2 separate regions of the Homo sapiens genome follow, and region 1 is linked to region 2. Evidence: promoter capture Hi-C in human tissues and cell types (Jung and others, 2019). All regions are on one chromosome and are shown on one strand. Each heading gives the region's core, a stretch centred on a gene start or on the middle of the fragment in contact. The rest is flanking DNA. Distances are from core to core; before and after follow the strand shown. Region 1 has its middle 24 kb from the start of TEX13B. Region 2 holds the start of VSIG1 (V-set and immunoglobulin domain containing 1).

The links. The method cuts DNA at HindIII sites, captures the fragments that hold promoters and counts their contacts. A contact is called where the count stands out against the background at its distance.
Region 1: a contact is called between a fragment that was not itself captured here and the fragment with the promoter of VSIG1 in region 2, in 2 of the 25 tissues and cell types used here (dorsolateral prefrontal cortex and ovary).

Annotation. Positions count from the first base shown.
Region 1 is chrX:108,002,847-108,009,485 of GRCh38, reverse strand. No RefSeq gene overlaps it. Among named protein-coding and RNA genes, the nearest start is that of TEX13B, 24 kb to the right of the region's middle. The HindIII fragment of the contact is 6,858 bases long and covers 487-6,639 here.
Region 2 is chrX:108,040,936-108,047,277 of GRCh38, reverse strand. It overlaps VSIG1 (V-set and immunoglobulin domain containing 1), which reads right to left and starts at 2,213. Exons shown (of 7, transcript NM_182607.5): 1 at 2,099-2,213. The coding sequence starts at 2,147. The HindIII fragment of the contact is 11,178 bases long and covers 1-5,888 here.

The DNA of each region.
Region 1 (6,639 bases), core at 2,666-5,165, 39 kb after region 2:
CACTCCCCTTCATTTATCAATGACTTTGGCCCCTGTTCACATCCTTTCTTCCTACCTCAAGATCTGCCACTATCCTCAGTGATTTCAACATCCCCAAGGATAAACAATGCAACATCTGACTACTCAGTTATTTGAAATCCATATCTCAGGTGGCTTTTCTCTTTCACCTTAGCCACACACACTGATAGTCATACCAGAGATCCTGTTATTATCTGAAACCACTTCACTCCAGAATTACAAGTTAGTTTAAATCATGAATTGTACCATCCAATCCTCTAGCCACAACCCCCTATTCACAGATTTTCAACTACTAACACTACAATCATTTCTCAGCTCCTATAGTTTATCGATCCTTCTACTTCCTCCAAGTCTATCAAGGATCTCCTTTTTTATTTCCCTCATTACTTAACTTAGATCCCATGCTTCATCATTTTGATAACACTCTTGACAGTACTCTAAGCTCCCTTGCCTTGAACTTGTTTTGTAAAACTTCTACCTTGCTAAACACAATTCGGTATGATATGGTTTGGCTCTATGTCCCCACCCAAATCTCATTTTGTATCTCCCATAATTCCCACGTGTTGTGAGAGGTACCCAGTGGGAGATAATTGAATCATGAGGGTGGGTCTTTCCTGTGCTGTTCTTGTGATAGTGCATAAGTCTCGCAACATGTGATGGCTTTAAAAACGGGAATTTGCCTGCACAATCTCTTTCTTTCCCTGCTGCCATCCACGTAAGATGTGACTTGTTTCTCCTTGCCTTCCACTGTGATTATGAGGCTTCCCCAGCCATGTGGAACTGTGAGTTCTCCATTAAACTTCTTTCCTTGTAAATTGCCCAGTCTCAGGTATGTCTTTATCAGCAGTGTGAAAACGGACTAATACACTGTGTTTTTGATACCTGCACCTGAGCACTGCTAGAAAAATTCACAATAGGGCATACTCGTTTACAAGAAGTTTAAGATCATCAGTCTGAAATAGGTTGCCAGCACTGCTGGACAATCAATTCTCCAGAACAAATATTTCAAACATTCTTTGTCTCGTCAAATCCTAGTTCTCCCTGACACACCTCCTTCCCTCACATCCTCCTCTGCTCTCAGCAGTTCTTCCTACTTCACAGAGAAAAATATCTGCTTCCATTCTCATCTTATTCTCTTCTGTTACATTAGAAAAGCTGTTACTGGCTGGGCACTGTGGCTCACTCCCAGGACTGTAATCCCAGGACTTTGGGAGGCTAAGGAGGATGAATTGCTTGAGTCCAGGAGTTTGAGACAAGCCTGGGCAACATGGTAAAACAGCATCTCAACAAAAAGTACAACAAATTAGCTGGGTGTGGTGGCACACACCTATGATCCCTGCTACTCAAGAGGCTGAGGTGGGAGGATCACCCAAGCCCTGGGAGGTTGAGGCTGCAGTGAGCTGTGATAGCACCACTGCACTCCACCCTAGGCAACAGAGTAAGACCATATCTCAATTATTTAACAACAACAAAAAAAAGAATAGAAAGGTTGTTACTATGTCTCTCCAATGGCAATCCCCCACGCGTACTTTGGATCTTCTATCTTTCAGGAGCCTTGCACTATTGGTGGTCCTTTACCTTTCCAGTTTTTTTTTTTTTAACATTTTCCACTCCATTAGACCTTTCCCAATAGGTTTAAATACGTTTCCATATCTCCACTAAAACAAACGAAAACCAAAAAACTTACTGAACTCCACACATTACTCAAGTTACCTTCTCCCCTTCACAGCCAAACTTCTTAAAAGAATTGTATCTTCCTAGTGTCTTGCTTCCAGGCCTCCTGTTTACCTCTCAATCCACTACTTTTTTATATAATTTCAATTTTAATTTTAGACTCAGGAGGTACATATGCAGGTTTGTTACATGAGTATATTGCATGATGCTGAGGTTTGGGATACAAATGATCCCTTCTCCCAAGTAGTGATCATAGTACTCAACAGTTAATTTTTCAAACTTTGCCACCCTTCCTCCTTTCCCCTCCAGTAGTCCCCAGTTTCTATTGTTGCCATCTTTTGTAGGTTTGTGTGTGTGTGTGTTTTGAGACAGGGTCTTATTCTGTCACTCAGGCTGGAGTGCAGTGGGTGATCTCAGCTCACTGCTGCCTCGACCTCCTGGTTTCAAGAAATCTCGCCTCAGCTCCCCAAGTAGCTGGAACTACAGGCGTGTGCCACCATGCCTAGCTAATCTCTTTTTTTTTCTTGAGATGGGGTTTCACTATGTTGTCTCAAATTCCTGAGCTCAAACAATCCACCCACCTCAGCCTCCCAAAGTGCTGGGATTACAGGCGTGAACCACTGAGCCTGGCCTTTATTGCTGCCATCTTTATGTCCATGTGTACCCAATGTTTAGCTCCCGCTTAGAACAAGATATGTGGTATTTGGTTTTCTGTTCCTACACTAGTTCGCTTAGGATAATGGTCTCCAGCTGCATCCATGTTGCTGCACAGCACATGATTTTGTTCTTTTTATGACGGCACAGTATTCCATGGTGTATATGTACCAAATTTTCTTTAACCAATTCAGCGCTGATGGGCACCCAGATTGATTCCATATCTTTGCTATTGTGAATAGTGCTGTGATGAACACATGAGTGCATGTGTCTTTTTGATAGAACGATTCGTTTTCTTTTGGGACTATACCCAGTAAAGGGACTGCTGGGTAAAATGGTAATTCTGTTTTTACTTCTTTGAGAAACCTCCAAACTGCTTTCCACAGTGGCTGAACTAATTTACATTCCCAACAACAGTGTATACACATTCCATTTTCTCTGCAGCCTTGCCAGTATCTGTTGTTGTTTTTTTTTTTTTAACTTTTTAATAATATTCCTTCTGACTAGTGTGAGAGGATTTTGATTTTCATTTCTCTAATAATTAGTGATGATGAACATTTTTTCTTATGTTTATTGGCCGCTCATATGCCTTCTTTTGAAAAGTGTCTGATCATGTCTTTTGCCCACTTTTTAATGGAGTAATTAGGTTTTTTGCTTCTTATAATTGTTCCTTATAGATTCTGGATATTAGACTTTGTCAGATGCGTACTTTGTGGATATTTTCTCCCATTCTGTGAGTTGTCTGTTTACTCTATTGATGGTTCCTTTTGCTGTGCAGAAGCTCTTTATTTAAGTAGACCCCACTTGTCAATTTTTGGTTTTGTTACAATTGCTTGAGGACTTAGTCACAAATTATTTCCCAAGGCTGATGTCCAGAAAGGTATTTCCTAGGTTTTCTTCTAGGATTCTTAGTTTGAAGTCTTACATTAAATTTTTAATCCACCTTGAGTTATTTTTTGTATTTGGTGAAATATAGGGGTCCAGTTTCCTTGTTCTGCATATGGCTAGCTAGCTATCCCAGCACCATTCATTGAATAGGAAGTCCTTTCCTCATTGCTTATATTTGTCAACTTTGTCAAAGATCAGATGGCTGTAGGTGTATGGCTTTATTTCTGGGTTCTCCATTTTGTTCCATTGGTCTATACGCTGTTTTTATACCAGTACCAGGCCATTTTGGCTACTGTAGCTTATAGTATAATTTTAAGTCAGGTAATATGATGCTTCTGGCTTTGTTCTTTTTGTTTAGGATTGCTTTGGCCATTCAGGGTCTTTCTTGGTTCGATATGAAGTTTACAATTTTTTTTTAATTCTGTGAAAAATTATTTTGGTAGCTTGATAGGAATAGTGTTGAATCTATAGATTGCTTTGGACAATGTGGTCATTTTTACAAATATTGATTCTTCCAACCCATGAGTGTGGAATGTTTTTCCATTTGTGTCATTTATGATTTCTTTCAGCAGTGTTTTATAGTTTTCATTGTAGAGATCTTTCATCTCCTTGGTTACATGTATTCCTAGGTTTTTATTTGTGTGTGTGTGGTTCCTGTAAATGGCTCTTGGCTTGAGTGTTATTGATGTATAGAAATGCTACTGATTTTTATACAATGATTTTGTATCCTCAAACTGTACTGAAATATTTGATCAGTTTTATAGCCCTTCACTGGAGTTTTTAAGGTTTTCTAGGTACAGAATCGTATCATCAGTGAAGAGAGACAGTTCGACTTCTTGTCCTATTTGGATTCTGTGTTAGTCTGTTTTTGTGTTGCTATAAAGGAATACCTGATGCTTGGTAATTTAATTTGTAAGGAAAAAAAAGGTTTTATTTTGGCTCATGGTCTGCATGTTGTACAGGAAGCATGGTGCCCACAAATGTTCCTGGTGAGGACCTCAGGAAGCTTACAATCATGGTGGAAGGTGAAGGGGGAGCCAGCACATCACACGGCAAGAGAGGAAGCAGATGGAGGGTGTCCTACACTCTTTTAAACAACCAGATCTCACATGAACTCATAGAGTGAGAATTTGCTCCTTACCACCAAGACGGCACCAAGCCATTCATGAGAGATCTGCCCCCATAATCCAAACACCTCCAACTGGGCCCAACCTCCAACATTGGGGATTGCATTTTAACATAAGATTTGGAGAAGACAAATATTTAAACTATATCAGATGCATTTTCTTTCTTTCTCTTGCCTGATTGCACCAGCTAGTAATTTCAGTATTATGTTGAATTGGGGTGGTGAGAGTAGGCATCCTTTTCTTGTTCCTACTCTCAAGGGGAATGCTTCCAGCATTCGCCTGCTCAGTATGATGTTGGCTGTGGGTTTGTCATTGATGTTTCTTATTATTTTGAGGTATGTTCCTTCAACGCCTAATATATTGAGGGTTTTTATCATGAAGGGTATTGGACTTTATCAAAAGCTTTTCCCACATCTATCAATATGATCATATGGTTTTTGTTTTTAATTCTATTTATGTGGTGAATCACTTTTATTGCTTTGCTGAACCAACATTGCATCCCAGAAATGAAGCCTACTTGATTGCGATAAATTAACTTTTTGTTGTGCTGCTGGATTCAGTTTGCTAGTATTTTCTCGAGGATTTTTGCATCTATGTTTCTCAGGGATGTTGGCCTGTAGTTTTCTTTTCTTGTTGTGCCTTTGCCAGGTTTTGGTATTAGGGTGGTGTTGGCTTCATAGAATGAGTAGGGAGCAGTTCCTCCTCCTCAATTTTTTGGAATAGTTTCACTAGAATTGGTACTAGCTATTCTTTGTACATCTGGTGGAATTTGGCTGTGAATCCATTTGGTCTGGGGCATTTTTGATTGGTAGGCTTTTTATTCCTGATTCAATTTCAGAACTCTATATTGGTCTGTTCAGAGTTTCCGTTTCTTCCTGATTTAGTCTTGGAAGGTTGTGTGTTTTCAGGAATTTACCCATTTCATCTAGATTTTCTAGTTTGTGTGCATAGAGGTGTTCATAATAACCTCTGAGGATCTTTTGTATTTCTTGGATCAGTTATAATGTCACCTTTGTCATTTATGATTGTGCTTATTTGGATCTTCCCTCTTTTTTCTTTGTCAATGTAGCTAGCATTCTTTCAATCCTGTTTATCCTTTCAAATACACTTTTGGTTTGTTATTTAATGCTTTTTATGAAATTTTGGTCTCAATTTTTCTCAATTTTTCCCTGATTTATTTTATTCTGCTAGATTTTCAGTTAGTTTGTTCTTGTTTTTCTAGTTCCTCTAAGTGTGATGTCACATCATTAATTTGAGATTTTTCTAACTTTTTGAGGTAGGCATTTAGTGCTATGAACTTTCCCCTTAACACTGCTTTTGCTGTCTCCCAGAGATGTTGTCATGTTGTGTTTCTGTTTTTATTTATTTCAAATTTTTTTTAATTTCTGCCTTAATTTAATTGTTTACCCGAAAGCCATTCAGGAGCCAACCGTTTAATTTCCATATGATTGTGTGGTTTTGAGAGATCTTCTTGGTATTGATTTCTATTTGTATTCCACTGTGTTCCAAGTGTATGGCTGGTATGAGTTTAATTTTTTTTTAATTTATTGAAACTTGCTTTACGGCCAAGCATGTGGTCTTTCTTAGAGTATGTTTAGTATGCAGTTGAGAAGAATGTATATTTTGTGCAGTTAGTGGATGGGGTATTCTGTAGATGTCTATTAGATCCAACTGGTCAAGTGTCATTTTGGTTTCAATTCTCAAGTCCAGAATTTCTTTGTTAGTTTTCTGCTTGATGATCTGTCTAATGCTGTCAGTGGGGTATTGAAGTCCCCCGCTATTATTGTGTGACTATTTAAGCTTTTTCATAGATCTAGAAGTACTTGTTTGATGAATCTGGGTGTTGCAATGTTGGTGTGTGCATATATTTAGGATAATTAAGTCTTCTTGTTGAATTGAACCCTTTGACATTATGTAATGCCCTTCTTTGTCTTTTTTTACTGTTGTCGGTTTAAAGTCTCTTTTATCTGATGTAAGAATAGTGACTCCTGCTCTTGCTTGTTTCCCTTTTATGTGATAGACCTTTCTCCAACCCTTTACCTTGAGCCTATGAACATCATTAAGTGTGAGATGAGTCTCTTGAAGACAGAAGATGGACGGATCTTTTTTTAATCCAACTTGCCACTCTGTGCCTTTTAAGTGGGGGCATTTAGATCATTTATATTCAAGGTCAACATTAATATGTGAGGTTTTGAGAAAAGTGTGAAGTTGTTAGCTGGTTTCTTTGTACTTTCAATTGTATGGTTGCTTTATAGGGTCTGTGAGCTATGTACTTAAG
Region 2 (6,342 bases), core at 964-3,463:
ATCAAAATCAATTTTAAATATGTATGTGAAAATGATGTCTGGATGTTTGGAATTTGGGAAAGTAATTCATTCTTTCAACAAACATTTACTATGCATCCACTATGTGTTAGGCACCACGCTTAACACCAAAAAGTGACATTCTCTCCAAAACAAGTCCAGGAAGAACATCAAATTGCACATTGATGGAAACACTATCAGTTGTCCAGATCAACTGATGAACACTGCTAATGACAGGTGTAGATTACTAAAGTGATCCTTTCTCTGACTTCAATACATATGTAAGCACAGCAAACGACAATAGAGCATACCACAATTTGCTGTACTGACACTACTGCTTTGGGCCAACTAGATAATATGTGTGTAGATATATAGTGTACACTATATACCAACAAAATCAGTTATATAGTAACTTAGGAAACACACTCTGAAGTATTTATTGGTCTTGTTCTAAAAGTCACAATAAAATAAAATCCTGACATGATGCTAAACAATTTTTTTAAACAATAAAAAAGTATACAAGGAATAAACCCAATTTTTAAAATGTAATATATACACCTGCAAATAAAAGAATAATAATTCACCCAAATCTGAGTGGTAAAATTGCAGATGATTTTTATTTTATTTTAAATTTCCATATTTCCAACCTTTCTACAATGACCATGCATTACATTTATAATCAGTAAAAATTACTTGTATGTTAGGTACAGTTAAAAAAAAAAAAAACTGTTCTTAACAACCGTTCCAAACCCTGTGCCTAGTATGGGCCAGGGCAAGGCTTCACATAGGGAAACAGGTATGATCTTAGAGGGCTGATGCAGAAGGCCCAGGGGTCGACCCAACTGGCTAATGACTGGAAACCCTTTAAGAAGAGACAAAACTTCCATATCTAAAGTTACATTTAAATGAATATGCCTGGGGAGAAGGGAAAATAGGAACATGTGTTTCCAGCTCTAGGGCCTAGTTAGGTCACTGGACAAATGGAGTATTGCCTTCTGGTGATGTTTAACTCCATAAAACATCTATGCTTAAACATTTAGTAATGAACATTTAAAGAACTATTTCTAAACATGAGATCACTTTGAAAAGTAACACTTTTTTCTAATTATAAAAATAGCATAATGTTCTTCGTAGAAAACCCAGGAAGTATGAAAAGCTGGGAAATAAAATTAAAATCATCTATAATCCCATCACCCAGAGGCAACCACCATGAGCACTTCGGTATATAACCTTCTAGTAATTTATTCTAGGCATATGTGTGCATCCTGCTTTTTCACTTAATATTTTATCGTGGGTATTTTCTTATGTCATTAATACGCCTAGTAAACCTCATTCTAACCACTGCCTAATATTACTAATGGCTTGAAAATCCTGTTTTTGGATAAACAATATTATTGTATTTACTATGGACCTAACTTATAAGAACAGATGCAAAATGTATCTGATATTTGAAAACTACCCAAGGGATTTTTGGAATTAATGATCTCTCCTGGATCTAACTAACATCAGTATTTTGATTCCAAAATTGATTTTCTTCTGTTCAGATACCTAAAATCACCCATGTTGTGCACCATAAATCACTCACATATTTTGCAAAATACAGTCTTAGGATTGGAAAACCACAACTCCTTAAGAAATATTAGACAGTAAAGTACTCAGTAAATTTCTGTTCTTCCCATATGTAAGCCAGGGCAGGCCCTCCAACCCAGGCTCTGCCTGCTAGAGCAAGTCAATCACTGAGCTTAAAGGAAACACTAAAGTAAGTAAAACAGAGACAAAATTATCCCTAGCACAAAGTTTGGTTTCTGAGTAAATTCATTTTTTTCACTTTTCAAAGTAAGTAAAGTAATAAACTATATTTTTTTCTGAGAAAATTTTCATTCAGAAGCTCCATAAAACAATAATATTATGGGCTTACACCCCTAATATATCAGCATGGCATATGTTTGCTAAGCAAGAGTTCTGAAAATTAACTCATCATACTAATCACAATTCATTTGAAGTACAGGAGATGAAAATTCTATGTAAAAATGTGGAATTTTTATTTAAAAGGAAACTCTGTTTCCAATTATATTTGGTGGTTTGGAGATCCTTTCCTTACCTGCAAGGCAGCTTAGGATCAGAAAGACCTTCCAAAATGCGAACACCATTGTGTGGAGGTTAGTTGAGAGCAGCAGGTGCCAGTAGCTTGCCTGGACTAGGCTGAGTCTCAAATTGGCTTCTTCGATCACACCGAGGTTTGCCTGGCTTATCTGCTGGGCATCGCCAAGCAAACATGCCTCTTTGGGCTTACTTATTGCGTATAGACTTTTTTCAGTACAGATTTGTGTTTCTTTGAAACACTTTTCATGGGGCGTGTTTCCTTGATATATTTGCTACTGTGTTAATAATAAACCCACGCATTTAAATTATTCAAGCTCCTTGTACACAGATTCTCTAAGTCTCATTGTTTAAAATCAATCTTACTAAAACGTTGTACTTGGGCTGGGGGATATGGTTGGAAGAGAGCCTATGCAAATAAAAGCTGACAAGGCTAATTAATTTCAAATATTTCCATGAGTCTTACAGAATTGATTCACTAACCTCCTTTTACAAATTAAGTTAGTAAATTGGTACTATATCGTTTCCTGGGGAGATGGGGCTCACGGGAAGGGCACAGGGGTTATGAAGCTAAAAAGCATTCATTTCTGTGTGAACAAACTCTGGATATGTTACTCTTTTTTGAAACACTGGCAGTTGTCACTACCCTCCACCAAAACTAGCAGTAAAATGATTTACATGCTTTTGTCTGTCGGGTTAGAAACCTTATAGCACGTATTTGCTAACGTAATTTTGCAAAATCAAGTTAGTGAATACATGCTTAAAGACTTTCTTTGGAGAAGTCTGATTTTTTGGAGAATTAAGATACTCAGTAAATGCTATAGGGTTTCCTTAGAAATGGAGGTTCACCAGGAGGGCATGGGAGGCTCCACAGGTAAGGAACTTTCATGGGAACATGAACTTCTAATAGTGTTCCTATTATGCTTAAGTTACCCGGAGAAACCTAAGGACTTTCTCTGGCTCTTCCCATGTGATTTCTAAGTCCTATCATTTCCATCTCCACAGCGACTTTCAGATGTGTTCTTTCTCCAATCTGCTGCTTCCATCTTGGTCCAGGTACTCAGCTTCCCACTTTGGCCTATCATAGCAGCTTCCTAAGTGGTCTCCCTGACTTATTCCACCTTCATCCTGTGTGCCAGCCGCAGGCCAATGTTCCAGCCCTAGTGAAATATTTCCAGTAACACCATAAATGGACTCTTTCATCAAATCCAAAGTCCTTAATATGGATTCCCATTCTTCCAATATCTGATCCTCACCTCATCTGAACTTTAGCCACATTAACTCATGCCCCTGAAAAAGTATGTCAAGATTTATTGCCTCAAAGTGTTCAGTCACATGAAATGTGTACAAATTTCAAGTGATATGTTTTATGTTCCTGTCTTTAATTTACAGGAAATGTTTGACCCCATCTTACTTTAGCCATTCCAATCTCCCACTGCTTCTTAGAAAGCCATTTTGCTTCCATCATGCCTGATTCCTCCTTGCAGCCTATCCTGTCCATGCTCATGTCTGATGCCAAACGTTGGCTCCAGGTGATTTCCATCACTAGAGTTTTCTTCTTCCTCCTCTTACTAGCCAAGTATATTCTTAGCATAGATCAGTCATACTGTCCTATGTGAGAATTTCAATGAACCGACATACCACCCTAGCATAAATTTCCATTTTACTTAAAGCCAATATCCTACAGCTGACCATTGATTATTCTCCAGTAGTTTCGCATTTATTAACTGGTCTACCTTAAATCTAGTCACTGTGAATCCCTCCAGGGTAGGGACCATGTCTTATACAGGCAGTTCCCAACTTTAAAATGAGCGTGTCCCAAGATGTAATGGTAAACTCGTTGACTGCACGCAAGAACTCCTGCAGAAGCAATGTTATAATATGAGTCTCACTGTCAGGCATGTAGCACATAATCTAGCACTGGCTTGAATTCTGCGTACTGGGCCGTATAAGGCAGTGGAGGGTGAGGAGGAACAGCAGGTGACAGAGAAAGAACGTTCCTTTCATTTCCCAAGATATGACTTGTGCACAAATCAACATTTTCCCCCAAATAACTATTGCATGTCTCTGACATCCACCTTCTCTTCTGCCTCCCACCTTCACGGCCCCCTGGCTCCTGGGTCCCTAGTTTGCCCTAAGGGAGAGTCTCATTCCCCAGAATATCTCATGCTCCAAAATTACTTTTTCCTTTTCACCTCTATTCCTCCCAGAAACCCTCCCTTTCCCCTGTATAAGCAGACAGCAGCTCCATGTTAGGAAGGGAAAAAAAAACGTTTCATTGAACATTCTCCAACCTGTTTGTGCTATTAAAAATACAGTGCTTACTTTCCTCACATAAATCTCTGACCAGGAGAATTAGGCAATGCAATAAAGAGAAATAGTTTGAGGGAGAAGATTTTGCAAAGGAGGACAACTTGTAGGGTGGGTCTCTGGAGATCCATACCACCTTTTCTCAGGCTTGGTTCTGCCTTGACTTCTAAGTCCACCAAGTCTCTAAAAGACCCATAGTTTTCACAATGCCCCCCACCCTGGAAGTAATACCGGTAGTTCCAGTGGTGAGGACGTGGGATGGGGAGCGAAATTTATAAGTCTGGCATTTGTAAGCCAGAAGCTTCCTGTGTTTCCTTCCATGCCCCATAAGTGATTATAGTAGTGTGACCATTGATCATTAAAACTAGGACACTTTTGAAAGTGAAAGGGGCACTATTAGCAATTACCTGGGAAAGACAGCATAAACAGTAACAGTGCCAGACAAACCTGGGTGTCTGGTTACCTACCCACAGGGGATTACTAGGCACAAAGTAGGTGCTAAGTAAGAGCTTGCTAATTAATTCAGTATGTCTGAGTTGGTTGGCCCTAAGATGAGTGCAGCAGAGGGTATGATTTAAGGATATTGCCCAAACCCATCTGCACCAAAATCTGTTGTGCAAACACAAAACACTCTGGAATATTTAAGTAAAATATCTATACTGCTGCTATGTAAGACCTAACCAGGACAGGAAGAATTCTGTTATAACAAACTCTAAAAGAGAATTTAAACTCTCTGCTTGGACCTGGATTTTGATGTTATTAACTATTGCTTAAAAAGTGGGTCATTAACTAGGACACGAAATATTAAATATCCTTTGCAGTTTTATAGAGCTTTATAATTTTTAAACTAATTTTCCATTTTATCTTTGTAGCTTTCCAATACAACAAATAAATCAGGTATACCTACATTTTCTATATAAGAAAACTGAGGCTCAAAAGTGCTGTGCTTTTCCCAAGGTCACCATAGCACGCATTAGAAGCTGTTCCTATCACACCACACAATGGCACGGTGTGATTGTAATGTAACAAATATGCTACTGCCCCCAGTATTCTTCCTTGGGAACTTTCAGAAATATGTGATATCTGATTTATCCCTCATTTTTAACTTAAAAATTACAAAAGTAATACATTTTGATAGTAAATGGTTTTCAAAGGACAAACAAGGATACAGAGGAAAAAAAGTCCCATTCATTCACTCACACATGTAATCCCTTTCCCAGGCTCACATGGAACAGGAGTTTAGCATTTTTCTCAGACCTTTTTCTATGCATGTACACATGCACAAACACACACACACACACACACACACACACACACGAGGTTTTTTAAAACATAAAGATGATAATACTGTACATTTTGTTCTATAATTTGCTTTTCTCCCTTAAAAAAGGTATTTTTATTCTCTCTTTCTGTCACTGGGTCCAACTGCATCTATAGATCAACCTTGTCCATGTTAAGGCTGCATGGTATTTCATGATATGAATGTACCTCAATTTATTTAATCATTCTCTTATTGGTAAATTCTTAGATGGTTTCCAGTTTTTCAATATTATTGACAATGGTTCAATGAACATGTAGCTTTCCAATACAACAAATAAGTCAGGTATACCTACATTTTCTATATAAGAAAACTGAGGCTCAAAAGTGCTGTGCTTTTCCCAAGGTCACCATAGCACGCATTAGAAGCTGTTCCTATCACACCACACAATGGCACGGTGTGATTGTAATGTAACAAATATGCTACTGCCCCCAGTATTCTTCCTTGGGAACTTTCAGAAATATGTGATATCTGATTTATCCCTCATTTTTAACTTAAAAATTACAAAAGTAATACATTTTGATAGTAAATGGTTTTCAAAGGACAAACAAGGATACAGAGGAAAAAAAGTCCCATTCATTCACTCACACATGTAATCCCTTTCCCAGGCTCACATG